2 separate regions of the Homo sapiens genome follow, and region 2 is linked to region 1. The links are contacts of gene promoters, found by promoter capture Hi-C in blood cells and fetal thymus (Javierre and others, 2016). All regions are on one chromosome and are shown on one strand. Each heading gives the region's core, a stretch centred on a gene start or on the middle of the fragment in contact. The rest is flanking DNA. Distances are from core to core; before and after follow the strand shown.

The links. The method cuts DNA at HindIII sites, captures the fragments that hold promoters and counts their contacts. A CHiCAGO score of 5 or more calls a contact.
Region 2: a contact is called between the fragment with the promoter of SUPT16H here and a fragment that was not itself captured in region 1, in 1 of 17 cell types (total CD8 T cells). The highest score is 6.8, in total CD8 T cells.

What each region holds. Positions count from the first base shown.
Region 1 is chr14:22,590,133-22,592,683 of GRCh38, reverse strand. No RefSeq gene overlaps it. Among named protein-coding and RNA genes, the nearest start is that of DAD1, 2.2 kb to the right of the region's middle. The HindIII fragment of the contact is 3,829 bases long and covers 1-2,551 here.
Region 2 is chr14:21,382,742-21,385,292 of GRCh38, reverse strand. It overlaps SUPT16H (SPT16 homolog, facilitates chromatin remodeling subunit), which reads left to right and starts at 1,274. Exons shown (of 26, transcript NM_007192.4): 1 at 1,274-1,431. The coding sequence starts at 1,366. It overlaps CHD8 (chromodomain helicase DNA binding protein 8), which reads left to right. Exons shown (of 38, transcript NM_001170629.2): 38 at 1-94. LOC107984643 (a long non-coding RNA gene) reads right to left here and starts at 1,020. Exons shown (of 2, transcript XR_001750627.2): 1 at 580-1,020. The HindIII fragment of the contact is 3,293 bases long and covers 605-2,551 here.

The DNA.
Region 1 (2,551 bases), core at 19-2,518:
GTTCACTGAAGATATTTACTGCTTTACTAGGACTTGATCAGAAACTTGATACTTTAAAAATTTGACTTTGTGCTGTTTGCAACTTGATTCTCCTTAAATTTTTATTTCTGAAAATAATAACCTATTTTATCTGTTCTATTAGGAAACAAGGAGAGGGGGTTTTGGTCACACTGGGGCCAAAGTTTAGAAGGTAGAGATTATATATGCAATAGCAGTTAACAGAAGCAAAGAGGGGAATCTTAAGGCAAACGTGACAATGCAAGGGAAAGGAAATGGAAAAGACATTCTTTTCCATGCGGAGATTTCCTTTAGAAGAGTTATTGTCTACTCAAACTTTGGAGGATTTGTGTTTCTTTTGGTAAATAATGTGATTTCTTTTTGTAGAGGATGTATGATGTAAAATCATGGACTTTGCCCTTAAGGGAACCCTCTTGCTCCTCCACTCTTCCATTGTTTTATGTAATGAAACCCCTAAAGTATACTCTGACTTCAGTTTCAGCTTATAAATTAGATCTGCCCTTTAAGAGCCATTTGAGTTGCAGTCCCTCCAGTGCTATCTTTTGCATACCCAAATTATTGGGGGCGCTGTAGTTTGGCTAACTTTTAATCATTCAGAGAACTAGGAGAAGCAGACATGGTTAATTACTAGGATTAATGATAGTTAATAAGAGCAAACATTTACTGAACATTTACTGTCTGCCAAACACTATGCTAACAGCTTAATGCTTAACATTATCTCATTTAATCCTCACATAATTTCAATGAGCCAGGTATTGTTATTTCTGTTTTATAGAAAAGGAAAATGAGACTGTCAGACTGAGTAACTTGTTCCAGATTAGACAACTAGTAAACAGCAGAATCAAGGTTCAAACCTAGGACTGTCTGATTCTAGAGCTTGCACTCTTATCCACTACTCTGGACAAGAATTTTAAACTATATTAATATTCTGATTTAAACTAATTGAAATCAACACTAGTGTTAGCAATTTCCTATTGACAGATCAGTTAAAAATGTTTCAATGATTATAGAATCATAAACCGAATAGAGAAGTAGGCCTTTTCTTGCTGTTTTAAGTAGTTCAGAAAAGCCCTAGTGTAGTATATTGGTGTGACTAGCAGGTCTCAGAAACAAATGCATTCAATAAGTCCATTTGGTGTTTTTCATCTCTTCTTCTCTCCTGTGAGAGTTCCTGGGGAGATCTTAATGATGATAGTTGACATGGATCAAAGGCAGACAAAACATAAGGGAGAAAACACTGGAAGGAGCCTGGCTGATGGAACAGAAACTCCCTGAAGAATCCACACCTGAATGATTAAAAAGCATCAGCCTAGCCTGTAAAGTTTGAAGTTGAATATTCGTGAGGAAGCTACCCTCCTACTTGTTGATGAGGCAGAGAGAAAGGTTCAACTTGTCAGAGAAATTGATGCTTCCTGCCATATTATATTGAAATAAGAACCAGCTTGTTATCCACTCTTTTTTTTTCTTTCTCAGCAACATAGGTTTAGGCTGAACTTATGTTCATATAGCTGCACAAATCTCCACGGGTATGAATATAAATCTATCTATTCAAATAGACTCTAAAGGTTTCTTAGGTTATTTCTCTTCTTTCTAGAACTTAAGTAAGGCTTTGATCACCACTGATAATACATCCGTTAGTTAATGCGTGTAGAGTTTCCAGTCTAAAGGCAAATAAAAAGTGAAAAGGGGCCGGCGCAGTGGCTCACTCCTATAATCCCAGCACTTTGGGAGGCTGAAGCAGGCAGATCACCTGAGGTCAGGAGTTCAAGATCAGCTTGGCCAACATGGCGAAACCCCGTTTCTACTAAAAATACAAAAATTAGCCGGGCGTGGTGGCAGGTGCCTCTAATCCCAGCTACTCGGGAGGCTGAGGCAGGAGAATGGCTTGAACCCAGGAGGTGGAGGTTGCAGTGAGCCGAGATCGCACCATTCACTGCACTCCAGCCTGGGTGACAAGAGCAAAACTTCATCTCAAAAAAAAAAAAAAAAAAAAGTGAAAAGGCAGGAACGCTGTTGTTCACCTGCTGTTTTAGGAATTTTGCTCACGTACAGTTCAAAATATTAAGAAGCTGAAAATAAAGTACCTGGTCATGTGTGGAAAAACTTACAGCTAAAAGGTGAGATGAACTGGGTCTAGAAGGTCGGATTCACGTGAAATTAAAAGGGCAACGAAAGCCAGAACTTAATTTCTTAAAAAAAGTTAAAACAGGCCGGGTGCAGTGGCTCATGCCTGTAATCCCAGCACTTTGGGAGGCCGAGGCTGGCGGATCACAAGGTCAGGAGTTCGGGACCAGCCTGGCTAACAATGGTGAAACTCCGTCTCTACTGAAAATACAAAAATTAGCCGGGCGTGGTGGCGCGTGCCTGTAGTCCCAGCTACTAGGGAGGCGGAGGTTGCAGTGGGCCGAGATCGCGACACTGCACTCCAGCCTGGCCGACAGAGCAAGGCTCCGTCTCAAAAAAAAAAAAAAAAACAGTTAAAACCCTCAAAATAATCCCACTTGTTAAAATACAAAACCTGAAACCATTTCAG
Region 2 (2,551 bases), core at 25-2,524, 1.2 Mb after region 1:
AGAGCCTGTTCCTGGCCGAACTGTGGATACAGCTGGAGGGTCAGGAACTGTTACCTTCTTTCCCCTTGGCATTAATAAATTTAAGTTAATCCTTTTCCACTCTTCCTTTGTTCTATGTTTGCTCAAACCCAGTGTATTGATTTTGAGTTGTTAATGGTGGGTAATTTCAGCACCACTTTCCTTAAGTTCAATACTGTTTATACTAAATTGCCTTACAGCAGACAAGTCATCTGTACTCCTCTAAAGGGTATATACAAATGTAGACTGTCCAGCTGGCTAAAGGCAAGGGAATTATTTAAGGTAAATGGTAGGTAGGCAAACTTCTGGATTCAAACTCCAAGTTTTTAGAAGAGACAGGGAGCAAGAATGTCATCAGGAACCATTTATGTTTTGTTTCTAATTAACTGAAGTAACGGTTATTTGGGGGAAGCCATAGAATAGTGCCAGTTTTCATGAACTGCAGCAAGGGGACTGGCCGACTGGAAGGATGCTGCCGCGACTTGGGCTCAGGGGGTGGGGTTGTGGGAAGGAACTAAAAGTTTGTAGAGCCCCTCAAGTCATCTGTTTCCTCTGACTTACACCATCCCACTGCTCAGTTAAAGCTTGCGCATATTATTTTCCTTTCGAAAACTAGGTTCCTCCCCCAGCTTGGGTCGTAGTTTATCACGAGGCTGGGCTCCATTTCCCTGGTATGAGTCCTCTGTCCCGGCGGAGCGCTTGACCCAGCATCCTGGCACCGAGGATCCCTCGAGTCCTGGAGCAGTCAAGGGCTTTTGCATTCCCATCATTTCTAGGAGGGGCGCATGCCCAGTTACACTGTAGTAGTCCCACTTTTATCCCACGCTAGATCCCGCTCTTTCCGCTCCCCCTTCCTTTGCAGATGGGGTGGAGCTATAACACCCGCGCGCGGCAGCTCTTGTGGGCGGGGCAGGCGCCGCCTCCTTCGCTTCGTCTAGGGACTGCCGCCTCGGCAAAAAGTCTGAGGTCCTGGAAACCGCCGCTGGGCTGAGAGTTAATAAGGGCGGAGGCAGACCGTCACGTGACGACGTCGATTCGCGTGCGGCAGTGGCGAAGTTGACAAACCCCGCGAAAATCGACTCTTTGCATCGCACATTTTGTTGATTTTCCCTCGTTTTTCTTTCTCTCTTTCCCCCGTCCATCCGAAAGAGGGTTGGAAAAAAACAAAACAAACAAACAAACAAAAAAAAAACCTAACGCTGTTGGGACCCGGAAGCGGAAAGGGCATCTTTGAGGTCGATACTTCCGGGTCATTGGGAGAGTGCGGGATTCCTGGGCCGAGAGCGGGTGGCTGAGCCGGGACCTCGCGTGATTCTCGGAACCCGAGGAGAAGCGGCGTCCGGGGCTATGGCTGTGACTCTGGACAAAGACGCTTATTATCGGCGAGTGAAGAGACTGTACAGCAATTGGCGGGTGAGGAAGATCCTGTAATTTTTCCTAGGGAGCCCCCTTAGCCATCCCATAATAACCCTGTTTCTCGGCGCCCTTTTTTCTCTTTCGGTCAGGAATTCCCGGGTTCTGTGCCTCACCCTTTTCGTTGCTCCCGAATCATTCACCGGAGGCGGCCACGAACGCTGCCCCTTAACAGGGAATCCCCCGCATTCACCCTGTCCTGCGGCCATCACCATCTTCCCCGCGTGCCAGCCTTGGTCATGCATAGCAGCACCTCTCGCAGTCTCTTCCCGCCCTAGAAGAGGCAACATCCTTCCCTCCTACTCCGTGGTCACGTCTTGCTGCCCTCCCCTGCCGTGTTCTCACGCACTCGCTCTGTCCCTCCAGAACCACAATATTCCACCCCTGGTCCCGCCAGGATTATAACCGTCTTCGTAAAGGAGAGATGGAAGGGCAAGGAGGATGTCAATCGGGCTTTTAGCGTTTATCGTTTGCGGGGCTTTTGCTGGAGTTAAAAAAAGAAATACTGCTCACGCGCAACCGCCTCATGTTCTAGGCCCTGCTGTGGGTTACAGAGAGGGACCTAACGCTGAAAGCCTGCAGGCATTAGTAATAACAAAACAAAACAAAACGATGCCTAAAACCTTATTAGTTCCTTGGTAGCGTATCCGGGGCACGTGTTCATTAAAAGAGCTGTGGCAGTTCCCAGTTTTTTAAAGATTCGGCAGTTTTGCTGCTCTAAAAACGTCCACAGTTAAAACTTATTTTTATGATGTTAACTTACTAATTGAGCAAACATTTGGTTGCATTCTGTGATGCAGTCTGAGTTGGCTAGCTTAAGTCTTGCCCCTGAACCCTGTCATCAAGGGAAGATACAGCTAATAAAGATTTTTTTTTAACCTGAAAAACGTTTTGAGAAAAATGATCAGCTCTCATTTCAGCATTGTAAATTATCTTTCAAACTGGTCATCTACTAAAACCAAGCCATTAAAATTGGTCGTTTCCTTGCCATTCATATTAAAGCTGTCTGTGCATGTTTCATCTTTTGGGGCTAAATACATTAGATAATTGAAAATAAAATTGATTCTCTTGCATTTTATGAAAAGGAAAAATAAGAACTAAATGCTAGATGAATACTGAA